Linked DNA regions of Homo sapiens: regions 1, 2 and 4 are each linked to region 3. Evidence: promoter capture Hi-C in 16 types of primary human blood cells and fetal thymus (Javierre and others, 2016). All regions are on one chromosome and are shown on one strand. Each heading gives the region's core, a stretch centred on a gene start or on the middle of the fragment in contact. The rest is flanking DNA. Distances are from core to core; before and after follow the strand shown. Region 1 overlaps MYCBP2 (MYC binding protein 2). Region 2 holds the start of LOC124903184 (a long non-coding RNA gene). Region 3 holds the start of MYCBP2-AS2 (MYCBP2 antisense RNA 2). Region 4 overlaps MYCBP2 (MYC binding protein 2).

Evidence for each region. Contacts are between HindIII fragments. The CHiCAGO score rates a contact against its expected background, and 5 or more counts as called.
Region 1: a contact is called between a fragment that was not itself captured here and the fragment with the promoter of MYCBP2-AS2 in region 3, in 3 of 17 cell types (total B cells, naive B cells and megakaryocytes). The highest score is 9.9, in total B cells.
Region 2: a fragment that was not itself captured here is called in contact with the fragment with the promoter of MYCBP2-AS2 in region 3 in 2 of 17 cell types (naive B cells and total B cells); the score reaches 8.0 in naive B cells.
Region 4: a fragment that was not itself captured here is called in contact with the fragment with the promoter of MYCBP2-AS2 in region 3 in 2 of 17 cell types (naive B cells and naive CD4 T cells); the score reaches 5.8 in naive B cells.

The regions. Positions count from the first base shown.
Region 1 is chr13:77,260,003-77,267,142 of GRCh38, reverse strand. MYCBP2 (MYC binding protein 2) reads left to right here. Exons shown (of 83, transcript NM_015057.5): 9 at 3,141-3,214; 10 at 3,354-3,492; 11 at 5,014-5,090; 12 at 5,768-5,972; 13 at 6,551-6,715. Among named protein-coding and RNA genes, the nearest start is that of MYCBP2, 64 kb to the left of the region's middle. The HindIII fragment of the contact is 2,378 bases long and covers 4,567-6,944 here.
Region 2 is chr13:77,279,652-77,285,946 of GRCh38, reverse strand. The region is part of intron 3 of MYCBP2 (MYC binding protein 2); the gene reads left to right. It overlaps LOC124903184 (a long non-coding RNA gene), which reads right to left and starts at 5,294. Exons shown (of 3, transcript XR_007063827.1): 1 at 5,258-5,294; 2 at 2,427-2,492. The HindIII fragment of the contact is 4,800 bases long and covers 1-4,489 here.
Region 3 is chr13:77,079,093-77,086,170 of GRCh38, reverse strand. MYCBP2-AS2 (MYCBP2 antisense RNA 2) reads left to right here and starts at 4,981. Exons shown (of 2, transcript NR_170173.1): 1 at 4,981-5,257; 2 at 5,510-5,660. It overlaps MYCBP2 (MYC binding protein 2), which reads left to right. Exons shown (of 83, transcript NM_015057.5): 63 at 2,979-3,139; 64 at 4,178-4,334; 65 at 4,520-4,744. MYCBP2-AS1 (MYCBP2 antisense RNA 1) reads right to left here. Exons shown (of 4, transcript NR_046716.1): 3 at 3,059-3,161. The HindIII fragment of the contact is 5,615 bases long and covers 4,833-7,078 here.
Region 4 is chr13:77,219,729-77,225,938 of GRCh38, reverse strand. MYCBP2 (MYC binding protein 2) reads left to right here. Exons shown (of 83, transcript NM_015057.5): 19 at 385-504; 20 at 1,407-1,488. Among named protein-coding and RNA genes, the nearest start is that of MYCBP2, 100 kb to the left of the region's middle. The HindIII fragment of the contact is 3,333 bases long and covers 1,910-5,242 here.

The DNA.
Region 1 (7,140 bases), core at 4,506-7,005, 180 kb before region 3:
TAATGTTGATACTTTCTGAGGCTGTTTATATTAAAATCTTGAGTGTCTAATGTGTCTGTCAATAATTTCATAGTAGCAATATTACTTGTAAGCGTTTGACCATCTGAAAGTGAGAGCTACTTCTGAAGAGTGCATTGAGAAGAATAATTGCTCCTGGGCTGCATGTTTATTTTTAAATATAATCTTAATAATTTCATCAAACATTTATTTGAACCTTACTACATATACATAGATACATATTAGTGTACATGACACTATGTTAAAGTAAATATGACATTTCATGTCCATTTCAGAAATAGAGGAGCTTTGGAAAGCGGATGACTTAATAAAATCATTTTGAAAATAACCATCTATTTTCAGATATGTCTACAGGGTTTTTTTTTTTTTTTTTTTTTTCATTACAAGTCCTGGACCATGTCTTTGGTCATAATAATAATAATAATAATGACAATAATATTAAAAAATACTTTTAATAACATGCACACTCCCCCCACATATTTATACATATATTGAAAGTAATCATGTTTGTTGTATAAAAATCATATGAACAAAAAAGAATGAATTGAAATAATTATAATCCCACTTCCCATATATAAACACTATGAACATATTGGTAAATATCCTTCTCGTATTTTTCCTTTGTGTATATGTCCATACTTGTAAAAAAGTGTGATCATATGCTACATATTGCTTTTTTAATCTATCTCTTTCACTTAATATTCTGAAAATATTTCTAGGTCATTAAATAGTCTTCTACAATGTCACTTAAATGTTACAAAATATATTCCATTGATTAATGTTTGAGAATGAAAGCCTTCCAGGGTTTTGCTATATAAATTACACTGTAATGAGCGTTCCTATCGTGCTGTCTTTGTGCCAGTCATTTTAGGATAATGACATAGAAGAAAAATTCTAAATTGACACATCCCATCCGCTATAACACATGGGTACTAATATCAAGGATTTACTTCTGAGAAACCCTGCACATTTAATAGAGACTGTGACTTATTGATAAGACAATTTGAAAATATGTGCCTACAGCTGTTTTATTTATTCTGCCTTGATAAAAAAATTACTCGTTAATGTCTTTATTCAGTTTAAATCTCGTTGCTTTGTTTAACTTGTGAAATGCAACTTTGAACAATACAAGTGTGGCTTTCTGTGTTTCATAAGTGTGTGCTGTATTAGTGGTGAAGAATGAACCAAACTTCAGGAAGATAGTCCCATATTTGTCTTCAGAACTGGCAGATGTTGCTTGATATATTCCTGAAGATACAAGCTTAAAATATTACATGATGGATAAAGAAAGGATAAAGAGAAAATCTTGAAATCACGTGGCAGAAGACTCCTCCCTCAAGCCTGAAGAAGCCTTTTGTAATTTTCTTGTTTCTTTGACCTGGACTGAATTTTCATCCAATAGCACTTTTTGTTTTTCGTGGGTAGGAATAGCTCTGCTCTGTAGCCTTCCAATCAAGGAGCAGAAGTAAATTGTCAGGTTTATAGATGGTAATGAATACCATGTTTCAAGTTGACATAAATCAGGTAATTCCTTGAGCTTCATGTTCCAGCTTGTCTTACAGTATAGTTTATTTAAAAAGTATTTCAACCTTGTTTTGATGAACTTAAAACATACTTTTTTTATCTGATAATTGTCATTTTATTCTTTAAACCTCGGCTTATCTTACAGATTGTATCTTTATGTCATTTTCTCTCCATGTCTGGTGACAGGTTGCCTCAGTTCATGAGGCTTTTTGCTACTCTTCTTGCGCCGCTTCACTCCTCACCCCTGCGTTTATCTGAAATTATAATGAGTTTTTCTTCTTTGCTTTTTAGTTTAAAATCTTACTGCTTAGAGCTTGAGAAGCATCTTTCTTGCGCCTCTTTGTGTTCTGTACAGTGGACTAGGAACTCTTTCTTTTGATTTCTCCTCTCTTTGATTACCAAGTCTCTTGGGCTACCAGTGGGCCTTGTCTCCCAGTTTCTATTTCCAGTTTGTGATCCCTGAATTCTCTATTTGGTAAGGGTCTGCCTGTGTTTTGCATATTTATGATAAGGAAGTATGCTAGTATGAAGCTCCTGGGCAAAGATAAAGAATAATCCAGCTTATTCGGGTGGGCTCCATTACTGCATTTCAAAATCAGAATTTTATGTTTTGTTGATTCAGGTGCAACTAGAAATGAAATGTTATTTTTTGTTTTGGTATTGTGATTAATGGAGAGATTCATCCTAGTTTTCTGCAGTTATTTTGGGAAGTATGTGTGTGTGTGTGTGTGTGCTTTTAACTTGCTTGCTGAAAATTTGTTTTTCCAAAAGGACAGAATTTATCCTTGATGTTGATTTTGCTTGTAGTTTTGTGTTATTTAGTAGCAATCACTAACACGTGTTCCTGTGGTCCTTCTGTAATACTGGTATCCCTTGTTACAATTGAGCTTGTGCATTATTTTGATCAAAGTATATGGTGTACTATTCTATGGAGATACATGCAGTATTGATGAAATATGGTATTCTAGCCAAGATACATGACTGCTTTGAGATAAAAATAAAAGCATAAGCATATATTTGTCTGCTCTTGTTGGACAAACATTTAAAAAGTTTAGAGCACACTAAATGCTAAAAATGCTGTGAATAAACATTGAATTTTTAAGTGGGAAATGTACAACTGGTTTTGAATATCCATTTTACAAAGCAAGGGATATCTGTAGTTGGACACAATAGATGTCAAATACAGAAGCTTTAGGTCGTATTTTTCTGTGACACTAATGACTGTGATGTATGTCTGAGAGTAGAGTGTTGCCTCCATTGCATGTGATTGTATTGAAATGATTGTAACCAACATTATAGTTTGTTCATCGTGGTGCATGTTTACTGTCAGACTATATCTAATACTAATTCATTTTGAAATTAGGTGGGATCTCAGGTCCTTGGTTATGGAAGATTTATAAATATAAGCAAAAATGTAATAAGTATGATTAGTTGAATTAGTTTCTGCTAATTTATAATTCTTTATTAAAAAGCACAGTCTCCTTTTGAGTTTATCCTTATTGCGTGGAGAACTCTCATTTTGACTTCAACAGAGGAGTAAATTCATTTTGCAAGGTGTTTGCTTGTATTGTAATATAAATACTTTTTCTTTTGCACAGATTGCCACACTGAAGGTCAAAATATTTTATTCACTGATGGAGAATATATTAATCAGATAGCTGCTTCAAGAGATGTAAGTATCCTGAATCTTAAGTAGCTAGTGTAAATGGAATTCCTTTTCCTTAAATTATTTAGCTTTTATTAGATAGACTGTAGAGCCTTGAACGACCTCTTTATGTAATGTAATGCTGTGGATGTTTTATTTTTCTTAGGATGGCTTTGTTGTCAGAATATTTGCCACAAGCACTGAACCTGTTCTACAGCAAGAATTGCAACTTAAACTGGCTAGAAAATGCTTACATGCCTGTGGTATCTCACTATTCGATCTGGAAAAGGACTTGCATATTATAAGTAAGATAGCAAATTAAGTGTTTTCCCTATATTTTAATTTTCAATTTTTCATACTCTTAAAAATGAACATTGTGTTTTCACCAGTTCAGCTTATGTTGTAGCAGCTATTTTGTGTCTGTTACTATTAATATAAAGGATAATTTTGAATTAATATGAATAAATAACTGGGAAACACAGTCTTTAAACAAAGTATGATATTTGAAGACCATTCTAAGGAATTGACTAATAATTTCTCTTTTTTGCTTTGAATAGAGCAAAAGAAAATAAAATTTAATGAGAATTATGGATGGATATTGGTGAATGTCATTAGTTTATATGCTGCATCATTTTTCAACTATTTAAAAATTTGAAAACTTACGTTGTAAATGTTATTACAACAATATACATAGTTCTCTCGTTGAAATTTTTAAAGTTTTTACTTGAATAGATTTTCAAGGTAACTATAGAATGATCTCATAGATTGTCAAAATGGTAATTGGCCTTACACACGGATCAGTAATCTTTCACTTGGATAGAGAAATACAGATAACCACAGAGTATTTCTTGGGCTTAGATTATTTACTTTTGTAATGTTGTAAAAGTAATTAGGATCATGAGTTCTCCTGAGAGTTTTAGTTTTGGCTTGCCATGCCACTCCAGGTTTAATAGTGACCTTCCGTAACTTGTAGGGTTCTTTGCAAGATCCATCTTTTTTGACTGTTATCTCATTACATTTCATAAACTTGGCATTAGTGCTTTACTTTCTATATTCTAATTATGTAGTATTTTTATAATTCTTCCCTAGAAAAATCTTGAATTGAAATTACAGATTTAAAATTTTTAAAGCCCATAAACTAGTTAGTAGTTTGTATAGCTGGACAAAGTCATAAAATGTACCATATGTAAAGCTACAATTACTCATAGTTTTACAATTTGAAAATATGCATAAGGATCTGTGTGTGTATATGCATATTTACATATATATATATTTGAATTGATGGAGTAGCTATATAAGATGTCTTTCTGTAGAAAAAGACATAGGCAGAGAATCTGAAATACTTTAATTCAAATATCTGCATGGCATTGTTCCAAGCTTGAATGACTCTGTGTCTGGACTAACCTCTCCAACCTTTATATATGCTTATTTGTAAACCAAGTGGTATAGTTGTGAGAATCAAATGAGATAAATTTTGTGAATTGTATAATGCCTGGTACCTAATAAACGCTCAATAAAACTTTGAGCATTTATACATTAATTCAAGGAATATTGCTGACATTGAATTTTTAAATTTTTTTGTCGTATATTTAAAAAATTAATTTGGTACTGGTTTGGAACAAGAGAAACAGATTATGATAACTTTATCTTTCCTTGGAGTACTATACCTATGGTTAATATTTTTAAAAATTTGAGCACATGACATTTTGTCATCCTTGTTTTTTAGTGATTTTGAATTGACATTGCAATCACTTAAAATAGTGCATGTTGTATTTAGAATTCTTCATATTAGAAATGCAATAGTATTTATTAGTCTCGTATTTCAGGTACAGGATTTGATGAGGAGTCAGCAATTCTTGGTGCAGGACGAGAGTTTGCGCTAATGAAAACAGCAAATGGAAAGGTAAATTATTCTCTTTGGATTAAAAATGAGCATTCTCTGATTTAAGAGATTAAAATACAATCTGTTGATTAGTTTATATAGTTTGCATGTTTAAGAAGAATCATCTTTTAAATTTTGATTTAAAATTATTTTTTATAAGATAAAATTTTATTCATGTAGGGAACAGTACAGGCATGCCTCATTTTATTGTGCTTAGTTTTGTTACACTTCACAAATAATTGCTCTTTTTACAAATTGAAGGTTTGTGACAACCCTGAGTTGAGCAAGTCTGTTGGCATCATTTTTCTAACCGCCTGTGCTCACTTTGTGTCTCTGTGTCACACTTTGGTAATTCTCGAAATATTTCAGACTTCTTTATTATTATTATATCTGTTATGGTGATCTGTTATCTTTGATGTTACTATTGTAATTATTTTAGGGTGCTGTGAATTGTGCCTATAGAAGACAGGAAACTTAATGGATAAAAGATATGAAAAAGCTATTATGAACTGTGTCTTCTTGGCAAAATATGTGTATTTCTTGCTCAACTCCCAGAAGCTGAATAGTGTAAAAAAGAGTTTGTTTTTATGTGAATTTTATTTTTCAATAAAATATTGATGTCCTTTTTTTTCCTCATGTGAAACCTGATGCACTATTCCAAAAAGTACCATAATTCCTTTTTTTTTTTAATACATAAGATATATTACACTGGCAAATACCAGAGTCTTGGAATCAAACAAGGTGGTCCTTCAGCAGGAAAATGGGTTGAGCTACCAATTACAAAATCTCCAAAGATAGTACACTTCTCAGTTGGACACGATGGCTCTCACGCCCTTTTAGTTGCAGAAGATGGGAGCATATTCTTTACAGGATCTGCTAGTAAAGGAGAAGATGGAGAATCAAGTAAGTTGAGTGATCAACTATGCATTTAATAAAAATAAATGCTTTATTTTAGTAAAAATAAAACTTTATTAAGATAAAGTTTATGAATTTCAATAACACCACACCAACTTTATATATATATCATTGACTTGATGTAACTGCTTAATAAATACATATTGAATGAATGAGGAACTTATTTTACTTTCCAGGATCTAACAAGAATACATGTGAATTACAACTTGGGAAAAAAAGGAGATTTTAGATATGTGTTAGTAGAATGGTATTAATAATGCAATAGCTAATTTAGAGATTGGGCCCTCCAGGAGTTTGGTAGAAAACTAATATTACTCACTGAGAATTTGAATGTACTTCAGGGAATGAGGATCTAGCAATGATAGCGTAAATATTAATTGACCAGATGAGGCTAGCAGGTTCACTGATTTTAAATGACATGTTGGGAAGCCCAGGCCTTTGTGAAAATAAACAAATAGTGTCATAAATGCAAATAATATGGGTTTTTTTTTTAGCTTTATATACAAACCATTATTATTATTATTTGTACATAGAGGTCTTGATTTAATCTAATTTCTTTTTTAAAGCTAAGAGCAGACGGCAATCCAAACCTTATAAACCTAAAAAGATAATTAAGATGGAAGGAAAGATTGTGGTATATACAGCCTGCAATAATGGAAGTAGTTCTGTTATTTCTAAAGATGGAGAACTCTACATGTTTGGAAAAGATGCCATTTACTCTGATAGTTCAAGTAAGTTAATAAAAAGTTTTACTTTTATGCAAAGAAGTTTCAATACTAGTTATGTATGACAAAGACATATCTAGAAAATTTATGTTGGTGGCATGCTTTCTCTACATTTTTTACATTTCCTTCCAAATGTGAAATATTTCGAAAGAGAAATTTTCTGTCATATCTTGTCACTAGGAGCACTGTCCCTAGTTTCATGCAAAGCTAATCATAGAGCTTGGCAAGGGAAGCTTCGCTGTAGCTGTGACTTCTGTGGATGTTTTCCCTAGACTCAGGTGCTTATGGGACATGTCCCTGGGACAGTGGTAGTATCCTGAAGAAGTGATTTTCATGACATAGCTAGTTTATAATTGTTGAAGTATTTTATCTCCCCCATTAGGGTGTTTGGCTGGGATGATCTGTCTTATTTACTATTCTATCCCCAGTGC
Region 2 (6,295 bases), core at 840-3,339, 200 kb before region 3:
CTGTACCTACTCTAATAGCTCCTTCCTTCCTTCCTTTGCTTTCCTTTGCTTTCCTTTCCTTTCCTTTCCTTTCCTTTCCTTTCCTTTCCCTTCCTTTCTCCTTTTTTCTTTTCCCTTTCCTTTTCCCTTTTCCTTTGCCTTTCCCTTTCCTTTCCTTTCTTTCACGGAGTTTTGCTCTTGCTGTCCAGGCTGGAGTGCAATGGCATGATCTTGGCTTACTGAAACCTGTGCCTCCTGGGTTCAAGCAATTCTCCTGCCTCAGCCTCCTGAGTAGCTGGGATTACAGGCATGTGCCACCGCGCCTGGCTAATTTTGTATTTTTATTAGAGATGGGGTTTCTCCATGTTGGTAAAGCTGGTCTCAAACTCTGGACCTCAGGTGATCTACCCACCTTGGCCTCCCAAAGTGCTGGGATTACAGGTGTGAGTCACCGTGCCTGGCCAATAGCTTCTTTCTTTAACCTAAAACAAACATGTTTATCTTTAATATGGGAGCTGCTCTACATAGAAATTATGGTCTCTAATTGTAATTTCTTATGCTTAACTAGGAGAGATTGAGATAAAAAACATAGTTGAGTTAGGACGTAGGGCTGGAGGACTTGTATAATTTACTTTTTAGTTAGAATACCAATTCTGTGTATGTGTGAGTCACACTGTATTATAGTAATTGTGCTACTTAAGTTCAATATTGTGAGAGAAAACAAAAGCCTGGGTAAATTTTTTACACAGGTATGCAGATTTTGAATAGTAAACTGTAGTTCAAATTAAATTGCATAAACAAGAACAATGGATTCCTAGGGTGTTTAAAAACATCAGGATTAGTGAGTATTAAATGAAATATCAGGCATTCTTAAGATAACCTTTTGCAGCATAATTAACAGAGTCAAAGGGGTATCTTTCAAAGAAAATTAAAGAAGATCAGATAGCCCAAGTGATTAATACTGAATTTTCTACCAAGTACTGACCTGTCTGCAAACAGGGTTAGCATGGGTTATGGAGCCAAACTGCTGGGGTTCAAACACCATTAAAATTACTAGCTATGTGACACTGGAAGTTATTTGACACATCCGTGCCTCAGTTTTGTCATCTATAGATTGGGGGTTGCATCTACCTCATAGGGTTGTAGTGACAATTTAAATGAATTAATGGATGTTGAGTGCTTGAGAGAACAGTACCTGGCAGAAAGAAGTGCTCGGTAAATGATATATATAGTTGTAAGTGTCAGTTTAGGTGCAAACAAGAAAATGTGTAGGTGCAAATGAATTTGAGTTACTTGTCAAGGAACTCTTCAGTTTATTAAAAAAATTATGCAAGCAAATGAAACTTCTAGAGAATCAGTGCAATCACCTGATGAATGAGAGGTAAAGAGAGGAAGAAGTGATGAGATGCCTCTATGCAGAGGCAAGCAGATACTATGGGTGGGGAGTGAAACTTTCAGGTGATATTTTTTGGCAGCCATTTCCATGACATGAAGGATTGACACTGAGGACGAAATTAGTCTCTTAAGGTTTGAGGTGATGGGATTTGAAGGCAAGTGGGAAATGTTGGCATTTTTCTTTTCCCTTTGACCTTCTCTGTGCCTCAGCCCCAAATGCTGCTATTATCCTAGTTTGCTCCTTTTCTTTGTTCCTCTGTTGCTCCTCCTAAGTGTGTGGCTGTCCCATTCCTTCTTGCCTGAGGTTTCTGTTTCTTGTACTCTTTTTTTTTTTTCCTTAACATGATTAAGACAGTTTTTAATCTGTTGTTGAAGTGTTGTTGTAATACAGTTTTATTTTTCCCATTCTTGAGTTTTAAATTATTATTTAGTTACTAATAAATTGAGTTTGACTGTTATATAGACCTTGATTGTCACCCTTTTGCTTTTTGCTTTTGTTTTTGTGTTTTGCGGATCAGTAATCATTGATGTATTTAAACGAGCTTTCTATTCCCTGAATGCTTCTACATTAAGTTTTTTAACCAGCTCAAACTGTCACTAAAATCTACATCCTCTAAAACTTTACAGATTTTATAGCTACATAATTTTTATTATTTTTGTTTTTATTTTCATTTTGAGACAGGGTCTGGCTCTGTCACTGGGGCTGGAGTGCAGTGGCGTGATCTCAGCTCACCGTTAACTTCCGCCTCCTGGGCTCAAGTGATCATCCCACATTAGCCTCCCATGTAGCTGGGACTACAGGTGTTTGCCACCACCCCAGGATACTTTTTGTATTTTTAGTAGAGATGGGGTTTTGCCAGATTGCCCAGGCTGGTCTCGAACTCTTGAGCTCAAGCAGTCTGACCGCCTCAGCCTTCCAAAGTACTGGGATTACAGGCAGGAGTCACCGTGCCTGGTGCATAATTTTTAAATAGTAACGCTTAGAAGTCATATTTCCCATCTGAACCCATTTGAAGCCAGTCATGCCACATTATTAAAAGATTTAGACTTACCTAGGATCATTTCTTTCTTAATTCAGTATATTCTTTTTGAATTTGTAGCCAGCATTATATTAGGTCCTGAGAACAAAAGGATGAGACATAATTCCTGCCCTCAAGAAAGCATTGTCTTGTAGGGATAAGAACCAGGTCAATAAATATTCTCTAGTGCCTTAAGGATTGATAGGGAGTGCTAGATATAGTGGAACACGTTAGAGAAAGGACTCAACACTGGCTGAGATAGAGCAAGAGAGAGAGAGCAGGAAGCTAAATCATGAAGGGCCTTATGTGCCATGTAATTGATTCAGATGTTATCTCATAATTAGTAAATATTGAAGATTTTAAGCAAAAGAATATCATCAGACTTGCATGATTGCATCAGACTCACCACCCTGTAGTTATGAATATGCCTTACTAACACTGGAGTAACTTTGTACTCCAGTAAGTAAGTAACTTTGTACTCCAGTTAGTAAGTAACTTTGTACTCCGGTTAGTAAGGCATATCCATAACTACAGGGTGGTGAGTGAGACTGGAGACAGAGGAACCATTTAGGCAGTTATTGCAGTTGTCTAGAGAGTGTTAATGAGGGTTGGAATTATGGTAGTGACAGTGTTTTGAATATAGGAAATGTTAAGCAGAATTGACAGGAATTAGTAATAAATTGGCTATAACGACTGAAAAAGAAGGCAGAATCTAAAGATATTCTTAAAGGTTTTGTGTGGTGAGGGCCTTTACTGAAAGAGGGAATACTGGATGAGGAACAGTGCTTGGCTGAAATGATGATCAAGTTTAGTTCACATGCTGATTCTGAGGTAAATGTGAAGTATCCAGTGTGTGCTATGTAGGGCTGAAGTTCAAAAAATAAGTGTCAGCTAGAAAAATAGATTTGGGAGTTATCACTATGTAGGCACAAGTTGAAACAAATTTCTGTGAGAGATCGGAGGGGGTGGGATCAAGAACATTGTTTGAAAAAATAGCTTTGAAAAGTTGAAAAGTTTTGAAAAGTTCTCTTCCTCTGAGTGTGAAGAGAAGGGAAGAAGATGGTAGTAGTCATAGATAAATTTGTTAGGCAAGGAACTCAGAAACTTCACACTCATACTTTCTTTCTTTTTTTTTTTTTTTTCAAGATGGAGTTTCACTCTGCTTGCCCAGGCTGAAGTGCAGTGGCACGATCTTGGCTCACTGCAGCCTCCACCTCCTGGGTTCAAGTGATTCTCCTGCCTCAGCCTCCCAAGTAGCTGGGATTACAGGCATGCGCCACCATGCCTGGCTAATTTTGTATTTTTAGTAGAGATGGGGTTTCACCATGTTGGCTAGGCTGGTTTGCAACTCCTGACCTCAGGTGATCTCCCAACCTTGGCCTCCCAAAGTGCTGGGATTATAGGTGTGAGCTACCACACCCGGCCTCACATTCAGAATTCTCCATCTTAGCCTTCTCCTCCTCTCTTTCTGCTGCTGCCTCTTCCCCCTCCTTTTTTCTCTGTCTCTAGATTTTTAAATTTTTTATTATTTGTAGATATTATCTCTGTACCAAATATTTGCTTTATACAAACAATTTTAAAAGACAGTATACTTCACTCTATGGTAATATGTAAATATAATTTTGATTTCCTTTTGAGCTTTTTCAAATATAAAAGTATAGGAAGTGATTTTAGGACCTTTTAACTAAACAAGATACAATTTTTAAGGGTAAAGAATTAATTATTAAATCCAAATGTGATGTAACTAAACTTTTATGATCACACTTAGTCATGAAATAATAAAGTCACGTTTGGAAATATATGATTTGAGAAGGGCAAAATAAAACCTTGAAAGACTCTTTATATATCATTTTTCTTTGGCCAAATATATTTTTATCTCACTTTCCTAGCATATTAGACTGGCTGTATCAGGTAATTATTTGGGCTTCATGTTTCTTTATCTTTCAAATATGATAGATAACCTTCAAAATTTAATTATTTGAGAGCAGCAGTAAAGGTAAAATTCAGTAAATTTACAAAAGACTATTTTCTGAAGAGAAGTGCGAAAGCATGTGTTGGGTAATTAGTTATAGTTCGTTATGGAAAGTATTGAAGCTTCTTGTGTTCTTTTATTGTTATAATTATTATTTTTATTAAATATCACATTTATTTATTTTGCTAATTATACATATTTATTGTAGATGATTTGAAAAATCAGAACATTTTTCTAAAGAGGTATTAAAAATCGGAAGTAATATTTGAAATACCATTAACCAAAATATACCCCAATATAAACATTTTTATTTCTTTTGTCATTTTTTCTATGTACACATTAAAATGTTTTTTACACACAAATGAAATAATACTATATTGGCAGGACTATATTTTTTCTCCTTACACTCTTCCTTCCTGATACTGAAGGAGGGAGAAATATGTGTTTTCATTGACTATAAGACTTCAAACTGTTTTAAAGTCTACTTTCAAAGTTCAAACTTTTGGTAAAATACTTTATACTTAGCCAAACAGCAGAAAAAGACTTATTTAAGAACATGTCTGTTACCTCTGTGCAATAATCCATAGCTAAATATTAAAAATTCTTTAATAGTTGCAGAACTTGAGGTTGATTTTTGTTGTGTATTGAATATATATTACTATTCTGAAAATGAATGTTTTCCCATTTGTTAAACAAAAAGTCTACAATGAACCAAGATGTGGATAATTAGTGAGACTCTCACAGTGTTTAACCCAGACAGATGAAGAGTTCCCTATCATCATTGTGACCAAAGTTTTATGGGCCAGTCTCACTAAAACCGGCTAGCTCTGTTTCTAGGCAGCCCACCTGAGTTGCCTATTGCCATTCACTTGTTATTACACCTTAAACTTACCAGAGAGATCAAGAACCTGTTCATTAGGCAGTCTTACTGTTTCTGGCAAGGTTCAATAATTCCGTTGTCACCGTAGGAAACTGTATCTATAATAAATGAACCTTAGCCAAAAATGTCATCTGTGAAAAATCCTCTTGGATTTATGAAAAATCATGGTTGGTAGCAGAGTAAGCAATCTGAAAGAATAACAGAATATAGTAGTCTTCCATTGGCTTGAGAATAGAGCCCCATATTTTGTACTCTGGAGATCTTTGACTTCACATTTCTCTTTCCTGTAAGTACATAAGCAGATGGAAATCTTGGACAGCATGTTCTTGTTTTCTAGTCCATTCCAGGAAAAGAAACTATATCAAATGTGAAAGTTTAATCACTTAATGTGTTTAATCAATTGAAACTCTATGCAGACTCTTCTGTAATATTAGCTATAATCAAGTCTGTTAGCATTTTAGATAACTTCTCCAAAGACAGTCCTCCTAGTTATTTGACTTCTTAGCTATATCTGTTGTTTCCAGAAAACTTGTAAATGTTAATCAGAACTACAATTGACTTACCTTCAGCCGACTTGCTTCTGGTTTAGAAAATGTATTTCTGAGATGCAGTGGTTTTTTAGCAAACAATTTAGTGAATAAATTAAACAAATATTTAATGTGTGCCTACCATATGCTAGGTAATTGGCTAGGCATGGGAGGTATTAAGCCGTTTAAGACATGTTCCTTGTATATTGGAAGATAATACAAGCCGTTTAAGACATGTTCCTTGTATATTGGAAGATCCCAACATGGTTGGGAAAATGAAAACAAAAATAGTTATACTGTAATGTAATAAATGCTATAACAGAGGTCTGTATTGAGTATGAATTATATAGCATGACTAATTTACCCTATTAGATTATAAACTCTTAGAGGACAGGGTCTAGTATACCTTCATATTTCCTAAAGTGAGTTTGCACAATATGAGTGCTTAGGAGGTATTTATGTAATATATGAATTAATGCAAAAATATCAGCAGAGAGAATATTCTTCCACTGTTGTGTTCAAT
Region 3 (7,078 bases), core at 3,732-6,231:
AATAAAAACTGGGAGAAATGGCCATGGAGTATCAATGAAGAGAAAAGAAAGTGTAAATATGAGGGCATATCTTAAAAAACATTGACTATGTAAAAAGTAATGATATGTCATGGTGATGTACAAAATGATAAAAGATCAATCCTGGATATGTATCTACCTAATACTGTAACCTTAAAAAAAGTAACAATTGACAGACTGCAAGGAAAAATAGGACAGTCTACAGTTACAATGTGAGATTGTCATATACCTGTAACAGCTATCTGTTCCTGCATAACTACCCCAGAACTCACTGGACTAAAACAGTTGTTTATTTGCTGACAGTCTGTGGGTTGGCAATTGCAGCAAGGCTCCACTGAGAGGAATGACTCTTTCCTGTTTTGGTTACATAGTGTGCTTCAAGTGGTACCCCCTGAGCTCTTTTATCCTCCAGAATGCTGGCCTAGGTTTGTTCAGATGCCAGAAGCATTCAAGAAAGAGAGCACAGAAGCTGCAAAGCCAAAATGGCGAACACTAAACTCATATGCCATGCTTCTGCCACCTTCCATTAGCTAGTATAATTCACAAGGCCGGTCAAATTCAAAGACTGAGAAATAAACTCCACCTGTTGATGGAAAGAGCGACAGAGAATTTGTGGCTGTTTTGTGTATAGTACCATAACACTCTTTTTAGTACTGGATAGGTCAGGCAGAGAAAAAGAATCAGAAAGTACACAGATTTGAATGATTGACAGTCTTGATAGAATATACAAAACATTGCATATAGTTGTTTACATTCTTTTCAGATACACACAAATGTCTATGGAAATTGACTGTTTACTGGACACATAAAGCAAGTTTTAACAAACTTGAAATAATTGGTTTTCTTCCCACCATGTCCTCAGTCTTTATTGCTAGTATATAAGAATTAGATAACAAAACAATAACAAGAAAAATATTTATAGGGAAATTAAGTAACGCTTCCAAATGAGTTGCATCAAAGAAGAATTATAACAGAAAATATTTTAAATGGAATGGCAATAATAGTACATCTCAAAACTTGTTGTTTGGCAGAGTTCTAGTTATAGTTACGATGAAACAGCCAGTGTCAGCATTAGTTCTTATAGTAAGTAACAAAAAGCTGGGCAAAATATTTAAAACAATTGTTCATAGGCTCTGAGGAGTGACCAGTACAGGGCTGTAATCCTTGAGAGAAGAAAAGGGCATGAGGTAAGCCCCACAATTGGGAAAAGAGCCCAAGCAGAGTACGTCAGTTGTGTTGGCAGAGATCAAAGTTTAGGACTGTAACTTTGGGATGTGGGAAGCAGGGCACTAGTGGTACAGAGCTGCAGAAAGGGAGTCTAAAATTTTTGCATAAAAATATCCCTAGGGTCCTGGCCACTCTTAGACTGGGCATGCAATTTCTCTGGAGGATCTAGCAGTGGAAATGAATTGTAAGCTGAGAACTGAACAGATTCTTAGCTTCAGAGCTGGGTTCTGAAGTTTTAGTCCAACCAGAGGTGGGGTGAGCGTGATGAATACTCCTGGCATGCCCTTGAAACCCCAGAAAGACCATACTCAAGGAATACAGACCATGCCTTAGGAGTAAGGGCAGTGCCTAAAATCAAGGGCAAAACTGAAATAACCCCAGTCTAACAAAGTCGAATGCCAAGCCTTGATGGAATCTAGATGGCCTGCTATCTCCCTGTAAGAACAAAACTACATTCTTTAGAAGACAATATAAACCAGAACTTCTATATCAGTAGAAGATAATATAAACCAGAACTTCTATATCAGTAATCAATATATGCACAAAGAAGGAGGCAAAAAGCAACCATCTTTTACTTAGCTCAGTGACATAGTTTAAAAAGTTTGATGGGCTTACATTGGTAGCAAGATGGAAGAACAAACATTCTTTGCTGTGGAGTAGCAGCTTCTTAGAGAATGGTTTGGTAAGATCTATCAAAATTCACATTAAAAATCATTCAGTAATTCCACTTTTATGAAGTTCTCCTTATCATATATGCATGTGTGAAAAGACAGATATACAAGTTGATTCATTGCAGAATGTTATATAAAAACAAAAGATTGGAAACAACCTAAATGACTGTTCTGAAGTGGACTGATGAAATAAACTATGGTATTTTTATTCATCAGAATACTATGCAGTGGGATAATATATGTTACATACATATCTAATAAGTAATAATCTCAAAGATAAATTATTGTTAAAAGAACACAGATCAGTTTGTTTCCAGTGCTGCCATTTGTGTAAATGAACAATATTTATAGACAGTCCAAGAAACTGGTAATAGAAATTGCCAGTGGGAGGGCATCTAGGTGGCTGGGCTGTAGAGACAGGGAGACTTTTTATGGTATTTTTTTATACCTCTTGAATATTTTATTATGATGTGTGTTATCTACTCAAAATAATAAAAAGTTATTCCATAGTTAATATTATTAATGGAGCCATCTGAGGGTTGTAATGAGAAATGAAATTCAACCCCTACTTCTCTTTCCTAGCTGTGGTCCATTTGCGTAGAAAGGAGCTTTTTTTTCTAATTCACATAAAAATGCTGTATGAGTTAGTGACCACCCCAACTTCTAAACATATGTTATTTTTTATACATAAACATACACACAAAACATACCTACATATATGTATGTGTATATATCCATACACATACATATATATGCACACACACTACACATACACATGCATACACATGTGGATTCACCCTACAGGTATCTTTGTGAGTACACTAGAATTGATACATTTATTCATTTGCATGCTGATTTTGCTTGTGACTAAACTTACAGCTTTTTTCCCTAAAATAATACAAGCATAATTAGTTAAAATTACTGTATCTTTCTGGGTACAATTTGGTTTTGTTGTTTGTATTTCTGTTACATGACCATTTTTTAAGTATACATAATAGTCTTTTGTGAAGAGGATTCCTTCCAGCACACAAACTGATAAACTTGTTTCAATTTCTGCCTTAGGAGAAAGATACAAGAGTATGTGAACATCCACTCTCAGACATAGTGATTGCCGGGGAAGCTGCTCATCCTTTACCACACACCTTTCACCGCTTGCTGCAGACCATCTCAGACCTTATGATGTCTCTCCCCAGCGGCAGTTCATTACAGCAAATGGCCCTGAGGTAATTTTGGTATCCACATATCCTAGGTACATTGGACAAGAGAGTTTATGGAATATTCAAAGTATGAAATGCTCCAAAAAAAGCTCTTTAAATAGTAAGATAGAATCCCTACATTATATAGATGGTGCCTCCCTCCTTACAGTCATAATTTTTAGAATGGTCCTTCCTCTTAGTTAACATTTGTTTGCCCTCCTGTAAAATGTGGCTAATGTAATTCTTAGTGCCCTAAATTATCACTGTAGCAATCTCCCTCACTTTCCCCAGTCTCCTACCTCAAATCACTTAAATGTCCCAAAAAGAGAGAGGGAAAATGAAATCTCAAAAACAAAAACCAAAATAGAGTTTTGACTTGAAAAGAATCTTGGGGAAAACAGAGCCTGGTTGTATGCACCCAGTCCTAAAAGCACCTTAAGGAGCATCACAGATGCTCAACAGATTCCAATTTCAATTTGAAATGTGTTGAGAATTTAGCATTGCTTTTACACTGTGAACCTTGTTACTAGATTCACATACTGGACTCACACTTATAAATAAATTCTCCTAATTAATGTATACAAGAAATAGATTGATGGAATGCTTGGGCTTCCCATGTTACTAATGATAAGACCAGTGGAAGAGAGATTTCTCTTTGTCCTCCTCACAAGATTTTTGAACTACAAGATAAACTATACCCTGATGAATTAGTATGGCATTGTAAGAGTAATAAATTTGAGGGGTTGTTGCAGTTGGTGTACCACTTGTTTACACAATAGATTCATTACCCTTTTTGCTTCTGTAGCCTTGATCTTCATCTGTCTAATTCTTTTATATTTAAAATGGGTCAACTTTCCTTAGAATTTACCTTGTTCCAAAGAAGTTACCTTTATTTCTCAAAAACAAAAACAATAGGAATGATTTTCTTCCCTGAATTTTTAAAATGTCTGTTACTAGAACATTAAAATTTCTTGAGATATTAGCTACAGAGTACTCATCTAAGAGTTCCTTAGATGTTCCTGGAAAATAATTATTTCGTATATTGCTTATATATCGCCTTTTTAGGTGCTGGAGTCTCAAATTCAAGCAATCTGATCACCAGTTCCTTCATCAGAGCAACGTCTTTCATCACATTAACAATATTTTGTCAAAGTCAGATGATGGCGATAGTGAAGAGAGTTTTAGCATCAGTATACAGTCTGGCTTTGAAGCTATGAGTCAGGTCAGTCATTTCAGTTATTATCCTGGTTGTCCTGTTAGTTAATAATACATCAAAGGAGAAACTGTAAGTTATTCATAATCAATTTGATCCTGTCTTCCATTATGTTTTATCTTATACCTGTTTGTTTTATCATCACGAAAGATTTGCTTTTAAGTATCATAAGTACTTATATTTGTTTCTGATAGGAATTATGCATAGTAATGTGCTTAAAGGACTTAACCAGCATTGTTGACATAAAAACTTCAAGCCGACCTGCCATGATTGGCAGTTTGACAGACGGCTCCACAGAAACCTTTTGGGAATCAGGAGATGAAGATAAAAACAAAACTAAGAACATCACCATCAACTGTGTAAAAGGAATCAATGCCCGCTATGTGTCTGTTCACGTGGACAATTCCCGAGATCTTGGGGTAAGAAAGCAAACGTGATTTACGGCTCTTTAGCTCTTTTCAGATCTTAGTATTCATGCACTTTCATTTCTGAATTTAGCAACAAGCTTTATCACCTGGAATTTCACCAACCAAACATCATTGCTATAATCCCCAAATAAATCTTAAGTCTAAAAACAAATTAATATGATTGGGAGCACTGTGGAATTCCATTTCTGAAAAGAGGTCTGATTACAAATATACCATGGCTACAGCTAAGCAAAATGAAAGTCTGCTCTACAATTTTCTGCTGCCATTCCCTTGGTTAAGATTTTCCCGTGACCTGGAAGTCCTCCCCTTAAACTCTGCTGATCAATTCTTCCAGGGTCTCTCAAACTCAGCAGAGAAATTCTAAGTAACTCCTCTAAAAAATTACTCTTTCCCTCTGCTGATTCTTTTTGTATTACTCTGGTGGCACTTAATAATAATCTTTGACCTATAGTGTAATCAGCTTTTTTTTTTTTTTCTGAGATGGAGTCTCCCTCTGTCACCCAGGCTGGAGTGCAGTGGCACAATCTTGGCTCACTGCAACCTTCGCCTCCAGGTTCAAACGATTCTCCTGCTTCAACCTCCTGAGTAGCTGGGATTACAAGCACACGCCACCATGCTTGGCTAATTTTTGTATTTTTAGTAGAGACAGGGTTTCACCATGTTGTCCAGGCCGGTCTCAAACCCCTGGCCTCAAGTGATCTGCCCACCTCAGCCTCCCAAAGTGCTAGGATTACAGACATGAGCCACTGCACCCAGCCTATCTTCAAGTGTCTACTTTGCCACAGTCCTCATGAAATAAAAAATAAGTTTCAGACTGTCCCAAATAATCATAATTTATATTCTCTTCAGCCTAGTTCATCCATGTGTTTCAACTGAATTAAATATTCTTTTATAAAAGGCACTAAACAAGAAAAAAGAGTCCTATTTGCTTGAGTATTAACAACCAAGAAAGAAATAGCACTAACTGCCAGACTGCCTTTCTTCTACCTCATTTAGAATTTTTTTCCTCAGAATGGATGTGGCTTGCTAGCAGATACAGTATTAATGGCTCTCCTTGAACCATTGCCTGGCTTCTCCTGTGCCATTTGCATATTTCCTTTCTCAGGAAGAGCCACAGTGGTAGGATTGGGTCTCAGATAACCTGGATGCAGGCCAGTCTGCAATCAGAGCAACCTCCAACTCCTGTACATCAGTGCAGGTTCTATTCCTCCCTGGTATTGAGTAAGTAAAAGAGGCTTAGCTAATATAATATGAGCTATTTCCTCCTCAGACCTAAGAATTTCCACTGGTGTAACTACTTTATCTTACTGGAAAGTCAAGTGTAACAAAGCAAAACATTTTTGTAGCTAGAACTCACTGTTCAGTGCAAAGCTATCTTTGGCTCATGGTACATTTTAAGCAAGGACATACTCTCCCTCAGAACAATGATTGCAATCAATTTAACACTTCTGTCTTTTCTAAGAGGAAATAATCATAACAGTATTCATTTTCAAAATTCCCAACATGTAAGCTGACATCTACTTTCCTTTTAACAGGCTTCCTCTATGTTATAGGTTGAGCATTCCAAATCTGAAAATCCAAAATGCTACAGAATCTGAAACTTTTTGAACACAGATATGACACTTAAAGGAAATGCATATTGGAGCATTTCTGGTTTTAGATATTCAGATTTGGGGTGCCCAGCCAGTAAGGATAATGCAAATAGAGTATTTCAAAATCCTAAAAAATCCCTAATCCAAAACACTTCTAGTCCCAAATATTTCTAATAAAGGATACTCAACCTGTATGTATGTTTTCCTTGAGTTATGTACCTCCATGTTCCTCAACCTGCCTACCACAGAGCCTTGTACACAGCATTTGTTGATTTGAGTTGTATCAGCCTACAGCACTCATATTATGCAGCTCTCCAAGGAATTAATGTTAATCTATTTCTTGATGTGCTTTGCGTAAAACTTATTCAGCCTTAAGATATTTGACACTAGTTTGAACATGTATTGAACTTGTACTGTTTGACATTTATTTTGTGTATTAATGTTGCCTTCCCTAGTTTGGCAAGTATCTTGGGGGATAGAACCTCCTCTCATATATCCTACTTCAAATCTGTAAGGAAGTCTGGGTACATTGTGACACTCATAAGTATTTGTTAGTTCAGTTACCTTCCCTCTTTATACTTCCAAAAGTAATGAAAATATAGCAACAAGAGTCTGACATAAGTGACAAGCAGATTTGTTGAAAGGCTTCATGAGGAAGGAATCTGAATATTTAGACTTTGAATAAGGAGAGGGAATGTCAAGCTGTGAGAGAGCACCTGGAGAGAGGCTGAAA
Region 4 (6,210 bases), core at 2,327-4,826, 140 kb before region 3:
TAAGTTTAAAATAATTGTTAAATGACTTTGCATGCAGTAATTTTTTATGGAAACTAAATTTTCCCATATAAACTGTTACATTTTAAATTTTGTTATTTCTATAACTTAATGACCCGTTTATTACATAAGGTTTTATCCATAACCAGATCTTATCTCTGTTTTTATTAATTTAGTGATATTTGCAAATGGAAGTATATAGTCTATCTTTTCAAAATTCCTTCTTTGCAGGTAGATTCTTGATCTATCACTTCTAACAGCTACAGATTCTTCTTGCTTGTTCCTTTTAACATTTTTCTCTTGTTCTTCCATAATAAACTGATTTAAATTTTTATTTTGAAGATGAATAATGGCTTAATCATAATTCACAAATTATAACACTTGCAGATGGAAGTGGAGAAAGAGGCGAAAAGGATGCAAGCAAAATCACAACATACCCTCCAGGCTCTGTGCGATTTGACTGTGAGCTCCGGGCAGTCCAAGTCAGCTGTGGATTTCACCATTCAGGTAGCGGCTGGAACTTTAGGGTATAACTGCGTTTTTACAATTGTGCTCAGTAACTTATTTCTTCAGATTTGATGAACATAGCCTGTTAACTGTGTGTTAAAAGCTGTAGCGTGGCAGTCTCTCAAATCTGTAAGACCTTTGTATTTATTACAGAATCTCTTTAAACAACTATGGCATGATGGAACAGGTACTTGTCTAGAGATCTAACTTCTAGTCTGTCTTCCTGTGGACTTCTTTTATAATTCAAGACAGTCTGGAAGATGAAATAATCCTTTAAATCTCTTTCAGTTCTAGAATGCTGTGGTTTTTGTAACATGTTCCCATATTTTGTTAATGTTCAGTGATAAATGTATGTCAACAAATTTACTTTCTTAAAATGTAGAAAATAATTAAATTCTTAGTAAATTATTGGCATTTGGGTTAGCTTTTGCTGTACTGTTCAACCTTTATAAAAACAAAAATGTTAAATTCCTTCCTTGAAGATTATTTGATAAGGTATTAACAGACATTAAAGTTCTGCTGTTTCATTGATGTTGTACGTAATTGTGCAGACCTCCTATCCTAGATAGGAGAGAACAATATTTTATATGTAGTTACTCATTATTAAGAAGATTTTACAGTTGACCTGAACCAGTGTGTTAATAAGAATTAATGTTATTAAATGGCATTTATACGAATTTTTAAGTGTGTATTATGAAAAAATTATACATTTATATGACCTACAAAAATATTTTTCAGAACTAAAATTAATTTCTCATTAAATACAAATTTGTCCTTCAGTTACCTATTTTTAATGGTTCTATAAATCTTAAATAGTGAAAATTACACTGCTTTTAGTATAGTTGTGATAGAAATGTAAAATGCATATAATGAAAAAATAAAGCTGTGTGTTTTGGTTGCAGTGGTTTTAATGGAAAATGGAGATGTCTATACATTTGGTTATGGGCAGCATGGGCAGCTAGGACATGGAGATGTCAACTCCAGGTACTTGCTAACTTTTCATTTGAAGATCCAGAGTTATTTTTTCTTCTGTTTTCTTTTCCTTCTTTTTTCTTTCTTTTCTCTTTTTAAGTATATATTTCTAGAATTAAAATAATATTATACCACTGCTTTGCAAAGTGTGGCCCATGAATTATTGGTGGTTTCTGATCTTATGGTTGAGTGCTTTTGTAGAGATAAAGGATTTTGTAGTTTCAGGAGAAAAGCTGATATATATTTTAAATAGGAGAGTGATTATGATTGTCACAAAATATCACTATATTCTTAGCAATTATCTTTTTAAAGGCTGTGCATGGCAATAGAAAAATAGTGAATTGTATTTTTAAAAAATGTCAGCAATGGATTCAAACATATTCCTGATGTCTGTTTTGAAATTTTGGTCTAATAACATGCAGTCATTGAAGCTTTTGAATAATTTTTGGACAGAACCTATTGGTCTCTCTGATTAACTCTTTTGACTTATTGCAAATAGTAGTAGAGAGACTGGTGGTAATTTCCTAATATCCCTACTTCATTTGTTTTAGTTTTAGTTTTAGTTCGTGACATGATCGTGCAGCTAAAGATTCCCTTTCTCAGCTTCCATTGCAGCAGGATGTGGCCATGTGAACTTAAGTGATAGGTGCCACTTTGGAATCTTGCTGTTAAAGGGAAAGGGTGTACCTTTCCATTTGTCCTTCTCTCTTCCCAGCTTGCTGGCTGGAATGAATATGTGGAAGCAGAAACTAAAGAAGTCATCACAGAGATAAGTTGGAGACTGTGTACTGAGAATGGCAGAATCATAAGATGGGAATAGGCTGGGTCTCTGACACCATGAACTGCCTCATCAGCTTCTTAAATTGCATGCTTCTTGCGTGAGAAATAAACTTGTATCTTGAAGTCCCTCTTACTTGTCTTTCATTACAGCAGCCGAGTTTGTATTCTACGTAATGCAGTCAGAATACTTTTGGTCAAAAGTAATAGAAAATCCATCTTTATTAGTTCAGGTCTTCCAGAAAGCAGATGCCAAGACAGGATTAGATATGCAAAGAATTTATTAGATACATGTAGTTTTGACCCTATGAAAGGAGAAAGAGAAGGAAGAATCGGGTAGGAGTCTAGGTTCCAGCATAACATTAAGAGAGTTTTAGCCAGGCCAGTGATGTGTCCCCAAGCTGAGGATACCTTTGGAAGGGTCCTGCATTGGGCAGGAATAGACCAACATTCATACCTTCACCATGTTCAGTCACAGCTGGTAGCACCCCAGGGGACGAATGTCCTCGTGCATCCAAAGGGACAGCACCTGAGGCTGTTATAATAGTTAACTCTGCTCTCTGTAGCAGATTGTCTTGAAGGAGATCTGAGTGGTCTGTGTCTGTGGTTGTCTCACCATGGAAACAGGAGTATTTATGAAGTCTGGAAAGATAGAGAGCAGCTTCAAGCCAGACTTCACTCAGCAATTCACTTAGCTGCAAAAACTTACCTTTTGACCTTCTACTCTGCCTTATTCTTCCTCGCAGTCACAGTGTATATGCCAGAATCAAGGGGACTTCTATGGTTTCTCCTTTACATACAGTGAAAGAAAGAGAACTTACCTTCACATAGTCATTAAATAAAATTCAAGGTTGTCACTGTGTCTTGAACTCACTCTACTATTGTGGCAGGGATGGAATTCTGCCATTTACATGGTAAAGATTAGTGATTCTTAACCCTGGCTGTATATTAGAATTACTTAGGGAATTTGAAAAAATATCATATGTGGATTCTACATCCAGCATTTCTGAGAGATGTGTGTGTTGAAAGGCTTGTGGGTGGGACAGGGGTGGGGAGTGGTCCTTGATAGGATGCCAGCATCAGAGTTTTTTCTAAAAGGTCCCCAGATTCTATATGTATCCAGGATGAGAACCACTCTCTACCCTTCGAGCTGAGGCAGGGTCAGATCTGTGGGCACTGCATAAAAAATGGCAACAAAAGGGAATGTCCTGAGTTATGTTTATGAATGTTGTTGCTAATGATAAGAGACGATTGAGATATCATTGAGTTGAACTTCTTATTAAAAACACAACTGAAACATAAAATTGATACTACTATCAAGAGGTTTGTAAAACTATCACAATCATAAATATTTAATGACTAATATCATACTTGCAAAGAGCAAAAGATGTGTTTGGCAGAATTACTTTATCAGATGTGTCTGCTGGATATGACATAATACCAACAGTGTTGAGCAATTACTGTCACAGGTGTTAGATGCCAACTGATATTTTGCTTTGCAATTGAGTAACATTACTGAAATGCAGAGGCTGAATCTGGGTAGTAATTACAGTTGGCCCTCTGTACCTGTGGGTTCTGCATCTGTGGATTCAATCAATCTTGACAGAAAACATAGTTAGGCCTACGATAATTGCATCTGTACTGCACATGTACAGATGTTTTTGTCTTGTTATTATTTCCTAAACAACAGAGTATAACAACTATTAACATGGTGTTTACATTGTATTAGGTATTATAAGTAATCTAGAGATGTTTTAAAGTATACAGGAGGATGTGTAGTTTATGTACAAATACTATGCCAATTTATATAAGGGATTTGAGCATCCCTAGAGTTTGGTAGCTGCAGGGGATCCTGGAACCAATTCCCCATGGATGCTGAGGGATGACTATAACCTGTGTGGGGAAGAACGTGGCAACTTTTTGTTCTGTTTCTCATTTGAGAGTTGGGACACAGAAGAAGAGGGTTTATTTGTATCATCGTGGCTATTGTTGTTGTTATTTAGCTGGTGGTTATTTTGTGAGCCATAGAAACTGGGAAAGGTGCATTGCAGTTAGATAAGATGGGGTCTCAGTCATGTATGCAGCAAAGAGGGCACTTCACAGAAAATAATTGGCAAATAGTATTTCATGGTCTTGCCAGAGTGGAAAGGGAAGTAGTGAAAAGCATGGCCATGTTATAGTCAGGTTATGTTATCTTACTGTGCACTTGGCACTCAGAAGAATGAGCAGCATGAGCACAACATCCTTCCACACCACACTGAGGTGTGTTGGCCGCTGAGAGGGAAGGTGTTCATGTCAGCTTTTAAAATGAAGAGATTACCTAAAAACATTACTTCGTGGTCCTGATTATACCAGTGAACACCATTCTTCGATTCCCAAGTCTGAAGAGATATAGGGCAGTTTCAGGCCAGACTTCCTCAGGTAATAATATTGTAGCAATATGCTCAATATTTTAAATTGCTTGAATTTATCGTCTTCATGAAATACGATAGCATTTAATGTTGAAACAAAATATCAGGGTTTCTTATGAAGATTAAACATTGGTAGGATCTACACAGTGGTATAGTAACTGGTAGATGCTACATAGTCATCGAACCTGGAACTGTAGAGGCAAGGTTCAGCTCTTCACTTCTTACCAACCATATGACTATAATTTCTTAAGATTAAACACTGGTGGGATTTGTTTTAACTGCCCAAAGTTGTTCTTTTCCAGCATGGAATGTTTTGGTCCTTGTTCCATTGAGTGGTAACTGAAAGACTGATTACATGAAGTGTGGGCAGAGCTACAACGGATAATGCAGTAGTCATACCTATATACTGTGCCTAGTGGATTAGATATTCATCAAGACCGCTTCAGTCTTAAGCACTCAGTTACCCTGTCTGTCTGGACTTTTGTGGAACTTGGAAAGTAGCAACCAAGAACTCTGTTATTAATTCAGAAAGGAGTTGATTATGTCTATAGAGGAACAATCTTGGGAGGAACAAAGCTTCTATAGCATATGTATTAACTACAACAAAGCAAAACATTTACAGATAGTTGAAATAAAGGGTTACAGTTGGAGAATATGTTTGAAAAGTCTCTAGTAATCAAGAGCTGTTAACTGGAATTTACTATATAGCACACATTAATAATGTGTTGTTTAAGATCAATATTGTGGTATGCATGATAATGAAGATGGAAAAGTGTTATTGATATTCTCTTTATTTAATGTGTTATATTGCCAGAATGACTGAGTTCAGTCTCTAGGTTGGGTCCTGATTCTGTCACTTGGTAGCTATATGATCTTGGCCAGGTTACTTAATCTTCTTGTGTCTCAGTTTCTCAAGTTTAAATATCCATAATCTGATGATACTTTCTTCTTCTGTGATGCAGCCCTACTTTATTTCCCTTTGACTTTATGCCCCACAGCCCTCTACTTTTTTACTCTTTTTTCACCCTTTTTTTAACTTTATTTCCTACTCAAGTTAAAGACTGTTGCTTAATTTCTTCACCTATACTCTTACCAGTTTCTTCAGTTTTCCCACTCTCTTGGTCGTGGTGCTAGGACATGATAAAACCGCAAACATGAATCAATCTTAATATTTCCTATGCCTATACTTAGGCTTCTGGAAGGTAAGAAATCACCATACCTATGCAGATTGATACTTAATTTCCAGATTCAACCAGTTCCTGTACAATGGTCATTAATCCTCCTGTTGTGTAGTATTGAACTATTTGACTTAATACCTTTTGAGAGTTTGATGAAAGACATGGGGTCTCTATGAAAAATACAAGAATATACACTTAAAAATTTGCTTGCAAATTTAGGAGATCTTTTGAAGCTCACTCATGGACTTCCTAGAAGTCCTTTATATCTGAGTTGAAAACTCCTGCTCTCGGTATGTATCTATTCCATCTACCACCACACCTTTTCTCGAATCTTCAAACTCTCCACTCACCTGTTTCCTCCTTTTAGC